Linked DNA regions of Homo sapiens: regions 2, 3 and 4 are each linked to region 1. The links are contacts of gene promoters, found by promoter capture Hi-C in human tissues and cell types (Jung and others, 2019). All regions are on one chromosome and are shown on one strand. The core of a region is centred on a gene start or on the middle of the fragment in contact, and the rest is flanking DNA. Distances in the headings are between cores, read along the strand shown.

What was found. Contacts are between HindIII fragments. The study calls those that stand out against the background at their distance.
Region 2: a fragment that was not itself captured here is called in contact with the fragment with the promoter of KREMEN2 in region 1 in 1 of the 25 tissues and cell types used here (dorsolateral prefrontal cortex).
Region 3: a contact is called between a fragment that was not itself captured here and the fragment with the promoter of KREMEN2 in region 1, in 1 of the 25 tissues and cell types used here (spleen).
Region 4: the fragment with the promoter of PRSS21 here is called in contact with the fragment with the promoter of KREMEN2 in region 1 in 2 of the 25 tissues and cell types used here (lymphoblastoid cells and mesenchymal stem cells).

What each region holds. Positions count from the first base shown.
Region 1 is chr16:2,962,448-2,966,885 of GRCh38, reverse strand. KREMEN2 (kringle containing transmembrane protein 2) reads right to left here and starts at 2,611. Exons shown (of 9, transcript NM_172229.3): 1 at 2,272-2,611; 2 at 1,853-2,027; 3 at 655-746; 4 at 437-561; 5 at 91-244. The coding sequence starts at 2,365. RefSeq lists enhancers at 1,113-1,232, 835-1,794, 3,763-3,892, 3,379-4,376, 4,377-4,438 and silencers at 1,593-1,962, 2,033-2,282, 2,813-2,892, 3,443-3,572, 3,603-3,682. The HindIII fragment of the contact is 31,540 bases long and covers 1-4,438 here.
Region 2 is chr16:2,734,287-2,738,724 of GRCh38, reverse strand. It overlaps SRRM2-AS1 (SRRM2 antisense RNA 1), which reads left to right. Exons shown (of 6, transcript NR_027275.1): 4 at 225-283; 5 at 1,115-1,245; 6 at 1,437-1,649. Among named protein-coding and RNA genes, the nearest start is that of SRRM2-AS1, 16 kb to the left of the region's middle. RefSeq lists an enhancer at 1-145. The HindIII fragment of the contact is 8,627 bases long and covers 1-4,438 here.
Region 3 is chr16:3,145,616-3,150,053 of GRCh38, reverse strand. It overlaps the pseudogene CASP16P. Among named protein-coding and RNA genes, the nearest start is that of TRR-CCG1-3, 2.8 kb to the left of the region's middle. RefSeq lists an enhancer at 258-307. The HindIII fragment of the contact is 3,003 bases long and covers 973-3,975 here.
Region 4 is chr16:2,815,119-2,819,556 of GRCh38, reverse strand. PRSS21 (serine protease 21) reads right to left here and starts at 2,320. Exons shown (of 6, transcript NM_006799.4): 1 at 2,225-2,320; 2 at 2,101-2,127; 3 at 1,591-1,756; 4 at 588-880. The coding sequence starts at 2,288. RefSeq lists silencers at 2,003-2,062, 2,173-2,452 and an enhancer at 4,118-4,438. The HindIII fragment of the contact is 10,567 bases long and covers 1-3,968 here.

The DNA.
Region 1 (4,438 bases), core at 1,362-3,861:
ATCCTGAGGACCAGGACACGGCGGCTCCCCTGCCCGGCCAGGCCCCACCTCGAGGCCCGCCCAGGCCCCTGGTCCCCGCCCACTCCTCACCTTCATAGACGCCCAGCCGCCCATCGCCGCCACACAGCTGTCCAGGGTGGCCGAAACAGATCTGGTCACAGTCGGTGGCGGGGGCCAGGCGTCCCCGGGCCAGGTCGCTTTCAGAGCCACAGAAGCAGGCGTAACCGGCCTCCACGCCCGCCAGCTGGGAGCACAGACTGGGTGACCCCAGGGCAGGGGCTGGGGTAGGGGTGAAGTGGTGGGGGCCTGGGGTCGGGGTGGGAATCGGGCTGGAGGTTCAGAAACCGGTGTCTGGGTTTGGCAACCGAGTGTTGGGAGTTGAGTGTGGTCTTTAGGTCCAGGTCAGGGGTCACTGGTCTGGGCCCGTGAGCAGTACCTGGTACCCCTTCATGCGGCAGAAGCGTAGGCACACCTGGACCGTGAGCTTCGTGGAGGTGCCGCTGGGGCCGCTGAGGGCTGGGGGTGCCCCTGAGTCCACAAAGCATCCCAGGTAGCCTGGCACTGAGGGGGCAGAGTCAGACTTCCGTGACTCCGAAAACAACCCTCCTCCCAGATGCAGCAGCGTTCCCACCTCTGTCCAGCCGCGCTACTCACTGTGACAGGAGGGGATGTCGCAGTAGCGCCAGTAGATGCCCTCCTCTGTCTCAGCCACGTAGCACCACGGCTGCACGTCACCGTCTGGGTTACTGCGGGTGGGAGGGAGGTGGTGGGGCTCCCACCACCCCAAGAATAGCAAACCCAGGCCCGGCCCCGCAGCCTATGCTCAAAGTGGCCTTCAAGGCTCTGTGCCTGTGAGCGGCTGTGCTGCCTGCTGTACACCCACAAATTCCAGTTTTGTCTACGCAGAACTCTGCCTGATGAAGGAACTGGACGTCGACTTCCGAGTGGACAGCGGGAAGTCATTAAAGGGGACTTGAGAGCTGTTTTTAGGCTTCAGCTGTTGCTAGACTTGACTCCATATATGAGGACTTTGAGGCCATCTGTATTCTTCACCCCCACCCGGCATGGGCCTCAGCCACTTCCGTCCCTCAAACCCCACTTTTTTTTTTTTTTTTTGAGACGAGTCTCGCTCTGTCACCCAGGCTAGAGTGCATTGGCGCGATCTCTGCTCACTGCAAGCTCCGCCTCCCGGGTTCAAGCGATTCTCCTGCCTCAGCCTCCTGAGTAGCTGGGATTACAGGCGCCCGCCACCATGCCCCGCTAATTTTTTGTATTTTTAGTAGAAATGGGGTTTCACCATGGTAGCCAGGCTGGTCTCGAACTCCTGACCTCAGATGATCCGCCTGCCTTGGCCTCCCAAAGTGCTGGGATTACAGGCTGAGCCACCGCGCCTGGCCTCCAACCCCACTTAAAAGCAGAAGTGAGCTCCTGAGCTTTGCGGCTCTCCTCCCGCTGGGTCCATCCTGCCTCAGACCGTAGCTGTGGCTCTGAACCCCAAAATAAGTTGTATGACAAGAGCCCCACTCTGACAAGGCCCCGCCCATTCGGCCCCCGCTCTGACCAGGCCCCGCCCATACGGGTCCTTTGAGTGCCCAGGTCCGTTTCTCTCCTGGCCCTGAACTGGAGCTCTGCAGAAATTGTTCACCTGAGGAGGATCCCTTTTGCGCCAGGGTTCCGCGCGCCCCGCCCCGCCCCGCCCCGCCCCTCATTCTGGCCCCGCCCCCAGGTTCTCCAGGAGGCTGGGCTGCCAGTCCACGGCAGACCTCCACCCCGCCCGCACGGAGGCCCCGCTTCGGGCCATCCCTGCAATGGTGAGCCCAGCCTCGCCCCCAGCGCAGGCCCCGCCCCTCACCGGCAGAAGTTGTGCGCGCCCAGCCCCCAGCGGCCGTGGGGGTCGCTGGCGCTGCTGTAGCTGTGTTGCTGCGTCTGGTCCCAGAAGAGGCACGGGCGGCCCGCCCCGCGCGGGCCAGTGCGGTTCTGGTGGCCGCGGTAGTCAGCCCCATTCACCTGGAAGCATTCGGACAGGCCTGCACGGCAAAGGCAGGGCCTGGGGAGGTCCGGACCCACGCCGGGCATCCTCGCGCCCCTACGCCACCTCCCGCCTGGGTCCCCAGCCAGCGACCCCGCACCCGCCCCTGCAGGAGCCCTCGGGCTGCTCAGCTGCTCCGGCCACCTGCTCTGTCCCCCTCCCTAGCCTTGGGGGCCTGGCCCTGGGGGCGGAGGCCGAGGAAGGGGTGGTGAACACGGCCCGACAGCCGTGCGGGGACTTACCTGGACTGTGCAGGCTCCCAGCCGAGGCCCCACGCGGCTGCAGCAGCGGGAGGAAGAGGAGAAAGAGGAAGCCCTGCAGGGCTTGTGTCCCCATCGCTCTCAACCAAGGATAGGTCACCCTCGCCCGGACACGGCCCGGGCTGCCCCCGGGGTCGCTTCGGGGTCTCCCAGGAGACCTAGGGGGCGTTGTCCTCTGACAGTCTCCCCTCGTCCGACTCTGAGCCGCGCTTTCCGTCTGGGGTGGGTAAATCTCTCCTGGGGGTCTTTGCCTCCCAGGGCCTCTGCCCCTAGAGGCGTCTCTCTGTCCCTGTCCCTACCCGGGTCTCTCCGGGGGGAATCTGGCCGGGGGCGTTCTCAGTCTCTGTCTCAGCGAGCTCTGGGCGGTGCCTCAGCCTCTACGCCCGCCCCCTCCCACTGAGCCTAGCTCTCGGCGTCTCCCTCGCCCAGGTCTCCAACGGGCTGACTCCTGCCCGCCTCGCATCCCTCCGTGGGTCCCTCCCCCTGGGTCTCTCCCTCCCCCCATGGGAGGCCGGGAAGCCCCGCCCAGCACTGGAGCGGAGGCAGCAGGTCCAGACGCCTCCCACGCCCGTTCCCCCGACCCCGGGCGTCCAGCGCTTCCCGGCCCCCTCTCCCTCAGGTCGGTGCCGGTTCAAGTGGGAAGGTGTGGAGGGGGACAGGCGGGGCAAGCGGACGGAAGGCCCTTAAAATGGGAGATACAGAACCCCCTCACGTGGTCGCACGCGCCCCAGGACACCCGGAATGTCCGAGTTACAAGCGCCCTCCTCCCAGTGCACGCACGCGCTCGCACTCTCTCCCATTCATTGCCAGGCGCTCACGCGCACACTTTCTTCGGATCCGCACGCCCCTCCCGCCCCTGGTCCAGATGCCGCTGGCCTGACGGAGGAAGCTCCACTCCCTGCCCCCGCGCCCACGAGACAGGCGGGAGTCGTGGACGCTCAGTCCGGGACAGGCAGGGGCAGCTGGTGTCTGGGGAGAAAGGCAGCTGCGCCCCAGGTCCCAGTCTGTCCCCTCCTCCTCCCCCTGCCCCGCCCTTCCCTGGGACCCCCAGCCCAGACTCTCCCGAGCCTTCACACTGCAGTGGAATTCCCCCAGCCGTGCCCCCCACCTGGCGGGGGAGGGGGAGGGGAGCAGGCCCAGGCAGGCGTGGGGGGAAATTCCCCGCCCCCTCCCCCTGGGCCCGACTCCTCCGAGTCCTCTGATCTCCCAGCGCCACCCGCCCGCTGCCCCCAGGGCTTGGGGGGAGGCCAGCGCAGGTGCGTGGGAGGGCGGAGGCGGGGGCCGGGGGAAGGAACTGGTGGGGGCCGGGCGCCCAGAGCGGCCCCGCCCCGCCCAGACCTCTTTGCCCCTCAGTCCAGCCTGCCCAGCCCGCACCAGGCCCTCGCCAAGCTGTCGAGCCCAGGCCGACCAGTCCCCGCCCTGCAGCCCCCACACCGTCTCTGCCCCGGTGTCGATGGAGAAGAAAGATGGGGTTCAGGGAGGTTCTGTCAGGCCCAGGCACCCACTGCGGTGCTGGGACCCGCGAGGATCTTCCAGCTGGCGCCTCACGCGAGTGTGCTCTGGAGGAGGGGCGTGGAGCCGAGGTGGGGGCATTTGAAGGAGATGGACTTGCTGAGACTCTAGGCCAGGGTCCTGGTCGCCTCCTCCGGGAGCCCTCTCAGAGGCCAGGCTGGCCCGGCTCACTGAGCCCTGAGCTGGGGCCTCCAGCACCCACGGGCTCCCTGGAACCCAACTGCGCTTCCCGACGAGGGAGCATCCGGGACCACCTGTCTGCCCGGTTTCTCTTGGCGGGGGCTCAGTGAAGTCCTCCCGGGCTCCAGTCCACAGAGGATGTCCTAGGGGCAGGCCTGCACAATGGCGGTGCGTGGGGAGCTTCACCCCCACAGCCACAGCCATCTGAGGATGGGGCAAGGTGGCGACAGGGACAATTAAGGACTCTGTGCGGAAAGGGGGCCGGCTTGGGACGCTGGTGGAGGAATCAGCCCCTTCCCTTGAGAGAGTAGGGTCTGAAAGAACCGTCCCTCTGTCCCTGGCACTGTGACACCCGGTTCGGTTGGCCCAGGCCTGTCTCCTCCAGAGGGGGCAGGGGGTGAGAGGAAGTGGGTGCTCAGTGCTGAGGCTGGGGCACTGAGATGGAGTGGGGTGGAGT
Region 2 (4,438 bases), core at 667-3,166, 230 kb after region 1:
GGGGCCATCTCAAGGGTCCCACTGTTTTTCTCTGGTCTCTGCCCCAGCATGTGGTGGGACCTTGATTTCCATACTCTCATGTCACCAGTCTGTTGGGGGGCAGAGGTTATGGGGTCACTGATATCACCTGGCTCATTCCTCCCCCATCCAGGCTGTCCCATGAGAATGTCTAATCTGTATGTCATCGGAGTCAATAATGTGTTTTGCTATCGCTCTGGTTCCAGGGATATTGCTCAGCCAAAGGGCCAGCATCCCAGTGAAGAAGATCAGAAAGAGGCTTCCGGTCACCAGGAGACTCCTGGGGAGGGCCTAGGCTGGGAGTGGGACACGGGTGGGGTTGGATGGAAGAGTACCAGGTGGGCCTAGGATGGATGGAGGAGGCTGTGTCCCCAGCTACAGGCCTGGAGATGTTACGGGACCCAACAGGCCCCCAGCCTCCATCCCCGTGCTGGGTTCTCAGGTTTAGTGGGGGCAGTGCCTGGGGACTCAGAGGGACCCTGACCCCAGAGCTTGGAGACCCCTCTGGAGCATGCCTGGCTCTCACTGTGAGGCCCGCACCAGCCAGTCCTGCTCTGAGAGCCTCCTCGTGTCCCCCTGGCTTGTCCTGCCAGCCTGGGGGTGGAGGGTGTGGTCCCCATGGCTTGTGGGAGGGAGGGCCCAGAGGGGCAAAGTCACCACCCTGAGGCCACCAGGAGATCCCTACAGAGGGCAGAGTGGGTTGGGGCCTGCCTTAGGGTCTGTTCCCCTTGAGCTCGGTGGGACAGGGCCATCTCGAGGGTCCCAGTGTTTTTTTCTGGTCCCTGCCCCAGTGTTTAATGGGACACAGCCCCTCACATCCCCAGTCTGTGGGGGGCAGAGGTCATGGGTCACTGACATCCCCTGGCTCATTCCTCCCACATTCACCCAACAGACCCCTTATCCTCCATCCCCCTGCTGAGACTGGGGATTGGCTCAGGGCCTGTTCTCCCCACTGAGTTTGGTGGGATGGGGCCATCTTGAGGGTCTGGGTGTTTTTCTCAGGTGGGACCTAGATCCCCACAGTCCCTCACGTGCCCAATCTGTGGGGTGGGCATGGGGTCACCAAGGTCACCTGGTTCATTCTTCCCCCATCCAGATTCCGTCTCTAGAGCCTTTGAGGTCACTCCTGACGCTGACATGGCTGTGAAGAGCTGGGTGCCAGGCATTACTGCCTCCAAGGTTGCTTTGCGAGGAATAGGTGGGGCATCAGGAAGAAGCCAGTTGCAGGTCAGGAGAGAGCACTGCCTCAGCTGGGGAGGGCCTGGCTGGGGGTCCCTAGGGCAGTGCAGGGCCCGAGAGTTAGAGGGAGGCCCAGGATGGGTGTGGGAGGCTGGGGTCAAGGCTAGGACTGGAGCTCGGCTCTCTAAGACCCTGAGGCCCCCTCCCTCCTTTTGTTGCCTTTTGTCGCCCTCCTGCAGGCAAGGCCTCTGCTGATGCTGCTTTTTTCTCCTGTACCCATCCATGGGAGGGAGCTGTGAGATGGCCTGGCAGAACCCGCTCTTGGACCCCACAGAATGAGAGGCTCACCCTGCACAGGAACATCCTGGGGCAGCAGGCTCAGCACATTTTAAATTTTGAGTATGAACAAAGTAAACTTCAGGGTTAAAAAAAAACACAAAAATTTGTCGAGCACACAATGATTGAGTGCCTATGGTATACCTGACGCTTTGCCATATCCAGGCTTCAAACCTCAGGGTTCTGGGTCCTTTGAGGCCCAGCTCCAACCCCACCTCACCCAAGCACTCTCCACCCCCACCACGTAACCTTACCAGGGCTGCCCAGCTTGGGTCATCTCAGACCACTTGGGCCCCTCAGGCCTCACGCCCTGAGCCCCTCAGCCTGGAAACCAGCCTGGACACTATGGGGGCCCCTGAGGTTTCCACCTCCTGCTGCCCTTGGCCTGAAAGGGGTCAGTGGGACCCCGCCTTGGGCCTCTGGGAGGCTGTACCTTTGCTTCTGCCTCATCCTGTTCTCCAGGGCCCTGTCCCCTTCTTGCTGGGCCCTCCCGGGATGCCCCCCAGTCACTGACCTCACTGGCCTAAGTCTCGCCTCCTCCAGGAAGCCTTCCAGACTGATGGCTCCCAGGCACTGAGCATCCCCCAACCTTGCTGTGAATGGTGGATGCCCACCATGGGCCCTCGGAAGCCAGGGAAGCCTGGGTCTCCTTGCAGGGGCCGCCACAGTTTTTCAGCCACTGCGATTCCACCCAGGTAAATCCCTTTCCTGCTTGTGTTTCCCAAGAATAACTGTGGAACGTGCTGGAAATGCAACATCCTGAGATAGGGAGAACAGCCTGAAGCAGCCAGGGCCTAGTTCCTATGCTCTGAGAGAAGGGAACGTCATGAGTTAGGTAGGGGCCCCCAAAGAAGAAAGCGAGGCAAAAATCCCTGTAAGTAGAGCTCGCCTGGGCCAAGGTGAAGACAACCACCGGGGAGACTCAGAATTGGAATATGAGCTCCGTTCAGCCTTTGTAACAGGCTTTTTTTTTTTTTTTTGAGATGGAATCTCCCTCTGTCTCCCCAGGCTGGAGTGCAGTGGTGGGATCTGGGCTCACTGCAACCTCCGCCTCCCGGGTTCAAGCGATTCTCCTGCCTCAGCCCCCCCGAGTAGCTGGGATTATAGGCACCCACCACCACGCCTGACTAATTTTTTTGTATTTTTAGTAGAGACGGGGTTTCACCATGCTGGCCAGGCTGGTCTGGAACTCCTGACTTCAAGTAATCCGCCTCCCTCGGCCTCCCAAAATGCTAGGATTACAGGCGTGAGCCACCGTGCCTGGCCACAAGCAGGCTTTTAAAGGCAAACGGGCTGGGTGCAGTGGTTCATGTCTGTAATCCCAGCATTTCGGGAGGCTGAGGCAGGTGGATCATCTGAGCTCAGGAATTTGAGACCAGCCTGGCCAACATGGTGAAACCCCATCTCTACCAAAAATACAAAAAATTAGCTGGGCATGGTGGTGCGTGCCTGTAGACCCAGCTACTCAGGAGGATGAGGCCAGAGGATCACTTGAGCCTGGGAGGTGGAGGTTGCAGTGAGCCAAGATCACACCACTGCACTCCAGCCCGGGCAAGAGAGCAAGACTCCGTCTCAAAAAAAAAAAAGTTTATTTGAAAAAATTTAAAAAATAAGAAAGTTTATTTGAGGCCAGGTGTGGTGGCACAGACCTGTAATCCTAGCACTTTGGAATGCTGAGGTGGGAGGATCACTTGAGTTTCAGAGTTTGGAACCAGCCTGGGCAACAGAGTGAGACCTTATCTCTATTTATTAAAAATTTTTTAAAAAGAAAAAAAGTTTATTTGAGCATGTATTGCTCAATGAACCCTCCTATCACAAGACTGTGGGTGACTAGCACTCTCAGGGAGAGCCAGGGGGACACTTACCAAGCATTTGCAGAAGCAAACCCAGGAAAACAACTCGACGGTTAGAGTGGAAAGTCTCTCGTTAGGGCTGGTGGTTTCAGGCTGGCGCCATTTCTGGATTAACTGTGTGGTTCCCATAGGGCATGGTTTCTTCATGGAGAAATTGAAGGACTGGAGCCACCCCAGCCCAAGAACTTCCCAAAGAGGATTTTTACAGACAGTGTTGTCCTTCTAGTCAGCCTGTCCGTGATGAGAGATTGGCCAAAACGTAGGCATGAGCACCACTCTGTCACCATCGTGGACGGGTGGTGGTTGTCTCATTCAGGGACTTGAGGTCACAGCGTGAGGCTCTTTGAGGAGAGATTTCTTTTATTGTTCATCTCATTGTGGTTTCTTTTTCTTTTTTTTTTTTTTTTTTTTATTTTTTGAGATGGAGTTTTGCTCTTGATGCCCAGGCTGGAGTGCAATGGCGTGATCTCAGCTCACCACAACCTCTGCCTCCTGGGTTCAAGCGATTCTCCTGCCTCAGCCTCCTGAGTAGCTGGGATTACAGGCGTGTGCCACCACGCCCAGGTAATTTTTGTATTTTTAGTAGAGACGAGGTTTCACGATGTTGGTCAGGCTGGTCTCGAACTCCTCACCTCATGATCTGCCCACCTCAGCCTCCCAAAGTGCTGTGATTACAGGCGTGAGCCACCGCTCCCGGCCTCACTGTGGTTCTAATGACACACGATCTTGGCTTACTGCAACCTCCGCCTCCTGGGTTCCAGCAATTCTCCTGCCCCAGACTCCTGAGTAGCTGGGATTACAGGCACGCGCCACCAAGCCTGGCTAGTTTCTGTATTTTTAGTAGAGACGGGGTTTCTCTATGTTGGTCAGGATGGTCTCGAACTCCTGACCTTGGGTGACTCGCCCACCTCGGCCTCCCAGAGTCCTGGGATTACAGGCGTGAGTCACTGCACCCAGCCAAGAAACAACTTTTGAATGTAGATATCAACTGCTTTTAGAAAATGATCCAAACATGGCCAGGTGTGGTAATCTCAGCACTTTGGGAGGCTGAG
Region 3 (4,438 bases), core at 1,225-3,724, 180 kb before region 1:
TCGGTTCCCATGGACACTATTGCGTCCATATGCAGTGCCAGGCGCTTTACACACATTATCTCACTTATTTCACACGTCCTTGAGAACAGGCACTGTTCACGGCAGATATTTATTGCACGGCCACCCCCACGCTGCCACGCCTCGCTCTCAGATGAGGAAACCGGGGGGATGGGGGGTGGATGGAGGCAAGAATGGCGCTGGGATCTGGCCACCGTCTCAGCAGCGCCCCCGTGGCCGCCGCACCCTCAGGCCTGGAGGCAGAGCCGGCGCCGGAGCGAGCTGCGGATCTCCAGGCAGGCCTTGCGGAGTTCATCGCAGTCGGGGCCCAGCACCTCCTGCTCGCACACCCGCCTGTTGACCTGAGGACCACACCCAGCCTGCGCCCGGGGTTACAGCCCTCCGGGGCTCAGCCTGCCCCAGGGGAGAGCCCCTGGCTTGGTACATTGCAAGGCCTAAAATTTCAAGGACTGCCTGGACATCTTTGAGGCTCGCAGAGCTCCAGAGGCCTAACGGTGAATTCCTCTGCTCTGGCCAGACATGTCCCCACCCAGCAGGACAGGCTCCCACCCCCTAGGTCCCCTCTCAGCAGACCAGCTGCACCCCACCTGGTCGTCACCCTAATGGACTTCAGCCCCCTGACAGGCCTTGGAAATATTCAAACCAACCAACCACATCTGCCCGTGGGAACCAGGGGGCATCTCACTCTCTTGTCACTACAAAGCCAGCTTCCCACTGGCCCTGCAGGTTCACCCTGCTCTGAGCACAAGCCCAGGTGGCCCCGCATGACATGCAGTGTCCTCCTCCCCACCCGACTGCAGTACGTGTGACTAAGAACTGCAGTGGATGGCATCTGTGCAGCGTCGGCCATCCTGCGTTTGGTTATCTTGTAGTATTGAGGGCAGAGGATCCCTCCTTCGCCAATGGAGTTCATAGGAGGTGATCAGAATACCAGGGCTGGGGAGAAGGGCAAACCCAGCTCCTTGCCACTTGTCACCCTGGAACCCCCCAACACACCTCAGTCAGCAGCTCCAGAAGGTCTCTCCCGGGGTTGGCTCTGAGGACCTCCACCAGTGTCTGGATAAAGTCTGAGCCCTTGTCATCGCGATAGGCCACATAGCCTAGGTCAGGGGATCAGGGCCAGAGCATCAGACCAAGGCCCCAACCCTCTGCCTTCCAATCCCAGGGGTCCTATTGTTGGTGGAAAGTGGGGTACAAGGAGGCAGGACCCAGGAATCAGGCAAGAGAACAGGGCAGGGAGCAGGGACTTCTTGCATCTGGAACAAGTTGTTGCTAGGTATTTGCAGAGGTGAGCCTATGGAGAGATTCACTACTGAACAAACATTTACTGTGCACCTACTATGTGCCAGACACTGAGCAGGGCCTTGGGGCAGGCAGGTCTACCCTGGCCTCGTGGAACTCACAGCCTAGAGGAAACCTGCACACACAGTGGTTGGCACAGCTGCGCCTCACAGCACTCACCATCACTGCTGTTACTACACATCCTAACCCATGTAGGGAACATGGCTGGACCACAGCTGGGCTGGCATCTCTGTGCCCCAACCCTAAGCCCTAGCTGCCCCTAAGGCTACTCCAGATCTTAGGCCAGGAAGCTGGGCCCTGTGTAACCACAGGCTCCCGATGACCCATCTCCTTACCCTCTGCGGCTGAGTAGACCGTCAGGATGTCTGCTTGGTCAGAGCTCCCTGGAGGGGTGCCCCTGCAGGAGCTGCCTGCAAGAGGAATCAATTCCAGTGATCAACATCGTGGAACTCCATCAGCCCCGGGAGCTCCCCATCTGTGGCTTAAGGGCAGCCCAGGGAGGTGGAAAGAGTGCAGGGCAGGAATGACAGACGGAAGTTCAAAGCTCGGCCCAGCCACTTAACAGCTGTGACCTCAGAAAAGCTATTTGACCTTACCGACTCCAGGGTTCTTGCCAGGCTCCAACAGGGGAAGAAGCTCCCACTTCCCAAAGGCCCTTGCGGTTTAGGAAGATTTTTTTTCTTCCCATTGTCTTGGCAAACAGAGGATGCAGGTGGCAGCCATACCCCAGCTTAGAGCCCTGGAGATGCTCTCTGGACGGTCCCCACAACCAGCCCTGCCCAAGCCCAGGCCCTGGAAGGAAGGCAGAACCCACCTTGGGCCTCAGCGTAGATCTGCAGGACATCTGCATGGGAGGGGACAGATGGAGGTGCCCGCAGCCAGCTCCAGTACCAGGGGAGAGCTGTGGGCCCCACACCAGCATCCCTGTTTCCTGAAGAGGGTGGGGAGAGGCAGATAGTCTCACTCCGGGGATACCTGGGGGTGCTCAGGGGTCTAGTGTGAATGTGGGGTCAAGGTGAGAACCCAACTCCAGAGCTCCAGGGCAGGCTTGCCAGACTGGAGACATTCAGAGCGCTGAATGACAGGTGTTGAGAGTTAAGGGTTCAAGGTCGTGGACTTGACCTCTAGGAGAGGACAGGAGAGGGGGCAGGGAAGGGCAGGTACCCGGGCTCCCTGGAGAAGGTAGACAGTGAGTCCCGGGGGCTGAAGCTTGGCCGAGGAAAGTGAGGGCAGTAGGAGGCCGGGCCGCTCACCCCCACGGCAGGCCTGCAACAGGAAGATCTTGGGGCGGCCCTGCAGCACCTGGCAGCGGCTCAGCTCCTGCATGAGTGCCTCGGGCTGCACCTCTTGCCCGTCAGCCCCCAGCAGCTGACCCCGTGGTCCCCCATGGGCCATCAGGGCCACAAGGGCACAGCTCACAGGGCCCCTGCAGGTGTCCAGTTGCTCCCGGAACTGGGCCAGCTCCTCCTGGAAAGCCTGGGGTGGGAACAATGTTGAGGCCTGGGCCAAAGCCACCGCCTCCCCAGCCACTGGCTGCCCTCTGTGAGGCTGACAAGGTTTCCCAGACCCTGCCCCACCTGGCCTCCCACCGCCTGCCACTCACAGGTCCAGGGAGGAAGCCCTCTTTTTTTTTTTTTTTTTTTTTGGGAAGGAGTCTTGCTCTGTCACCCAGGCTGGAGTGCAGTGGCGCGATCTCGGCTCACTGCTATCTCTGCCTCCTGGGTTCAAGCGATTCTCCTGCCTCAGCCTCCTGAGTAGCTGGGAATACAGGTACATGCCACCACACCCGGCTAATTTTTTGTATTTTTAGTAGAGATGAGGTTTCGCTGTGTTAGCCAGAATGGTCTCGATCTCCTGACGTCGTGATCCGCTTGTCTCGGCCTCCCAAAGTGCTGGGATTACAGGCGTGAGCCACTGTGCCCGGCCTGTTTTTGTTTTTTGAGACAGAGTCTTGCTCTGTCGCCCAGGCTGGAGTGCAGTGGCACAATCTCAGCTCACTGCAACCTCGGCCTCCTGGGTTCAAGCCATTCTCCTGCCTCAGCCTCCCAAGTAGCTGGGATTACAGGCACGCACCACCATGCCCTACTAATTTTGTCTATATAGTAGAGACGAGGTTTCACCATGGTAGTCAGGCTGGTCTCAAACTCCTAATCTCAAGTGATCCACCCGTCTCAGCCTCCTAAAGCGTTGGGATTACAGGCGTGAGCCACTGCACCCGGCCAGAAGCCCTTTTCTAACTCCCTCCTGCAAGGCCTTGGCATGGCCTCTTTAGAGGTGACATAGAGACCCAGCTTCCTGGAGCCAGTTCTCCTCCTGCCCTCGTGGGGAAGCCGCACCAAGAAGTTGAGAGGTGTGAGGAGAGTGGAGTGGGCTGCTGGGAGCCAAGAGGGAAACCAAGACTTGGAGCTAAAGCTTTGAGCTGGGGAGGGGGCGGGGGGGCCAGAGAACCAGCCAGTGAGGAAGGCCTCGGGGACCCTGGAGACCAGGCTTCCAGAGGCAGGGAAGTGACGGGCCAGATGCAGGCAACAGGGAGCACAGAGGTTAGACTTGTGGTGCACTTCCTGCCAGTGATGGAGAGAGGCCCCAGGTTTCTAGGGAGGGGTGGTCTTCCTTCAGAGCACCAGTGGAAGTTCTCGGCTTCCCCTCACCTGGGCTGTAGGGTCCGTTCTCACGGTGGTCTCAAAGCCCAGGGCCCAGCACAGGCCCCCCAGCGCCTCCACGTCATGCTGGGCCCCAGGCCGGCCTTGGATCACAGCCAGGAGGAGGGCAGCCCTGGCCTTGGACAGGTCATACTGTGTGCTGGGACCGGGGGCCGGCTGCAGAGAGGGTTAAGACACATCTAAAGTGGCCTGAGAGGACTCCAGCTCCTGGCCTCCCCGGCCGGGGCCCCCCCTAAGCTTCTGTCCCACTGGAAACTGTGGCCATGTGATTGGATCCCTGCCCTGCCCCCCTCACCTCAGGCCTCCAGGGCTCCACGCCTCCCAGGCACAGTGCCCCCCTCAAGGAGCTCCGAAGGACGGGGCAGCAGGTGCCCCCTGCGGACTCTTCAGCCACCCTGCGGAAGAGCTGGGGATGGGGCCGAGAAAAGACTCAGCCAGGCTTGTGGCTTCTATAGTCT
Region 4 (4,438 bases), core at 1,071-3,570, 150 kb after region 1:
ACACGCCCAGTCTGGGGCTGCCGGGGCTCCTCCGGATGCTGGGCCCACTTCTTTCAGGGCATGTGTGTTGGGGGACACGCAGGTGCCAGGGCAGGCCCACCAGAGGAACCCCCAGAGGGGTTTCCGTGGGAGCTGCGGTTGAGCATGGCTTGGAAGTTTCTGGGGAGAGGAATGGGCTCAGTGCTGCAGGAGAATCGGCCAGAGCTAGGGTGGGTGTGGGAGGCATGGAGAGGCAGCCCAGGAGCCTGATGCCTGGGGCATTGGTGAGCACTGGGGGAGGTGGAAAGATGCAGGAATAAATCCAAGTATGAGGTTTATGTCGCCAAGCCCTCCAGAACCCCTCCACCACCGCACCACCCACAGGCCTGCGCCAAACTGGCCTCCCTCTCACACTCTCCTTCTGGCCCCCACAGCCCCTGGAAGGGAGAGAACTGGGTGTTTGGTCCCTGCCCTGGCAGGTGAGGAGAGACTGCAAGCAAGAGGGGCATAGCCTGCACCCCCAGACCAAGCAGGGGGCTATTGTGCCTATGCAGGGGAACAGGTGAACAAAGACAGTTCCTCCCTGACCCGCCTGTCCCCAGCCTCACCCTCATCCTCTTTGATGTACCCCCAGCCAGTCACCCAGCAGTCTGTCCGGTTCTCAAACTCAAATGTGGAGGCCTGGAGACAGATGGGCTGGATGTGTTTAGTGTAGGTGACAGGTGCAGACAGCTTCACCAAGGCAATGTCATAGGGTGAATTCCCCAGGTAGCGAGGGCTCAGATAGATATTCGATACGAAGTAACGGGTGTAGTAGGCCTGCAGGCTCCAGAAGGATGGCATGGAAGTCAGCTGGCCAAACTGGACCATCCACCCGGAGGGATCACTAAGGTCACTATAGCTGGCAGAAGAGAAGAGAGCAGTCAGGGGCCCTGGATGGAGGGCTGGCTACCTGAGCACAACTGGGGTCCAGTGCAGGAGGGGAAACTGTGGTGTTGCTGCTACTTGCTAACACCCAGGGTCCCCTGCAGAAATGAAGGAGCCCAGACAGACCACAACCAAAGTCCTAGGACCTGCTCCTGCAGCAGAAGGGTGGGGTCTTGTCACCTCCCAGAGCTGTCCCAAGGAGCCTTGCATTGAGCCAAGGCCTCCAGGGGCACCCCCATGCAGCCCAAGGAGGAATGGGGAGATGCACCACGCCAATGTGGGATTGGCAGGATGGAGTCCACACAGCGGCCCGGGGGTGCTGGCCTTGGCTCAGTGCCCCACACTGTACCGCACCGTCCACCAGGAGGGGGGATGAGGGTGGGATGGTCAGTGGTGAACTTTGGGTTGAAAGAAAAAGGGAGAGAATACCCAAAAGTGTGTGGAAATGTTCTGGAAGAACATTCTGGAATAACCTGAACAGGGTTCCCTCCAGGAGACCCAAAGGGAACTGGAGTGGGTGTAACCGGCTGCAGCACAGCCTGGGGCTCAGGAGAACACCAGGCCGCATCCACGCACAACTTTCACGCCCAAGTCTGGCATCAGACCAGAGGTAAAGTTCGGTGGCACTCCCTCCAGCCCTGTTCCTGCCCGTCCCCGCACCCCTCCGTTCGCACCCCCACTCACGTTTCAAAGCAGTGCGCCGCCGTGAGTGCCCAGCGGTGGCTGAGCAGGCTCACTCCGCATACGTGGGAATCCCACAGGCGCAGGCTCCCCTGCCACGGCCAACGCCCGAGTTCGGCGTCCTCTCCACCCACGATGCGCGACGTGATGACCCGTCGGCCGCATGGTCCTCGGATGGTCAGAGGAACTGCTGAGCCGCGGGAGGCAGCCCCCCAAGCCCGACCTCTCCCTTTCTCCCCTTCAACCCCGTCCGGGAAAGCACGTTTTTGCCCACCCAGGGTCCCCTCGCGTGTGTGCAGCAGGAAGTAGGTGACACTGGAGATCCTCCCACGTGCTCTGCAGGGCCCGCCCATCCCCCTCCAGCGTCCGTTAGTTACTTTCCACGCCAACAGAGTTCTCGATCCCGGGGGCGGGGGCGAGAGAGCAGTAAAGGCCCCCCTCTACCCCCTCACCGCCCCCCGTCCACCTCGGCCCAACGGCCCTGGCAGGAATCGCGCGTCCTGGGCGCCCTACCTGATAACGGCGCCGCCTCCTGCGACTCTGCGGGAGACAAGAAGTGACTCCCCGCGGCCTCCACCTCCCGTCCTCCCCACCGCTCCCCCGCCTCCCCATCCCGCCAGCAGCGCCCCGAGCTCACCCGGCTTCCTGAGTCCAGCCCGAGCCAGCAGCAGCGCCAGCAGCAGCGCCCCGCGCGCGCCCATGGCCTCCTCTCCCGCGGCCTGACGCCCCCTCTGCCTCCTCTCGCGCCGGGCCCGGGGCGCCCCCTGGGGGCGGGGCGGGGTGGGAGCTCTGCCCTCTACTCCCAGCTTCACCCTCCTGGGCCCAAGGGCTGTTTGGGGCCTCTCATGCCTGGCAGCGCCCTGGCTTTCAGCCCCTAGGGGCGGGTCTTCAACCACACTTCTTGATGTGGCCCAGACCCGGTGGACCCCACAGTCCCTTTCTTGTCTGCAGCCCAGGGGTCCCGGCTGCCCTCTTGGTGACCCCGTCCTCCACCTACAACCTCCTCCAGCACCAAGGGCCTGGCCCTGAGCCAGGAGTCCCCTTAAAGCCTGGGGACCCCCTGAAGGCCGGGTGGGGCCTAGAGGCATGGCTGCTCCTTCATGGGACCTTCTTGGGAAAACAGTGGTCCTCGGCCCGTTCCACCCAGAATGGGGATCTCCCCAAGTCTCTGCCCAGGCTGTCCCCACTGCGGGCTCCCGCTGGGCTCTCTTCACTTCTCTGGAACAATTTTTTTTTTTTTTGAGATGGAGTTTCGCTCTTGTCGCCCAGGCTGGAGTGCATTGGCGTGATCCCAGCTCACTGCAACCTCCACCTCCTGGGTTCAAGCGATTCTCCTGCCTCAGCCTCCCAAGTAGCTGGGGTTACAGGCGCGCGCCAGCACACCTGGCTCATTTTTGTATTTTTAGTACAGACGGGGTTTCGCCATGTTAACCAGGCTGGTCTCCAACTCCTGACCTCAGGTAATCCGCCCACCTCGGCCTCTCAAAGTGCTGGGATTACAGGCATGAGCCACCGCGCCCAGCTGCAATTCCACTTCTGAGCATACACCCAAAAGAACTGAAAGGAAGGTCTTCAAGAGATATTTGTTTTTGGTTTTTTGGGGGGATTTAGTTTTGTTTGTTTTTGAGATGGAGTCTTGCTCCATCGCTCAGGCTGGAGTGCAGTGGTGCGATCTTGGCTCACTGCAACATCTGCCTCCTGGGTTCAAGTGATTCTCCTGTCTCAGCCTCCAGAGTAGCTGGGATTAGAGGCACCTGCCACCATGCTTAGCTAATTTTTGTATTTTTAGTAGAGATGGGGTTTCGCCATGTTGGCCAGGCTGGTCTTGAACTTCTGACCTCAGGTGATCTGCCCTCTGCGGCCTCCCAAAGTGCCAGGGTGAAGGTGTGAGCCACCCCACCCAGCCTTCAAGAGATATTTGTATACCCATGTTCATAGCAGGATTATTCACAGTAGCTGACATGAAAGCAACCCAAGAATCCATTGACCACTGAACAGATCAGTGAAAATGGGAATGTACAACCAGAACCTGGGAATCCCGCCTCCCTCAACTTGAAACTTGGGAATAGCGTATTCTACTTTCAACACTTGCACTAGTGGAAGGTTAATTACATGAAAGATTAGGCAAAATGTGTGGTTAGGCGTTCTGGTTTTCCAATAAAAGTATTAAGTTTCTTTGGGGAAAGTACAGATAAAATGCTTAGCACAGAGCATGGTACCAACGGGAACTCAATGAGGGCGCAGCGGGTGTGTGGGAGCTTCGGGTTTCAGGAGCACAAGGCTGCGGTGCCTTCCCTCAGGGCCTCCTTCCCCAGCAGCAGCTGCTCAAGGACAAGTCACATGCACAGCCTGGCCTTGGCCTGCTGGGTTGGGGCAAAGGTCCCTGGGCTTCTGATCCTGCCCCTCTCCCAGCCAGCAGGACGTTCCCTCTGGTTCCTGAGTCCCAGGGATCCGCTGAGGCCCCTAGGAGGTGTCAGCTCCTGGTTTTGCCCAGGGTCTCAGTCAGGCCAGTCCTACCCGGAGATCTGAGCCAGGGACTCAGGTTCTTGCCTCCAGTGAGGCTGGGGGCTTCCCGCAGAGGCCAAGCCTGGCCCGGGGGCTGCAGGGAGGCCCTGGCTGCTGCATGGGCTGCAGATGGAGACTCTCTTGTCTGCTGTGCCTCAGGCTGCAGAGTCACAGAGGGGTCTTCCCAAGCCCCACACCTGGAGGGCAGGGAGGACAGGGACTTGTGGTCCTAACCCGACTCCTGACACATAAGGGCCAGCCGGCCCGGAGCCACCTCTGCGGGCAGGAGAAGGCCTCATTGTTCCCTTCTCCTGGCAGAATGAGGACTGGGGCGTGCCCGGGGCAG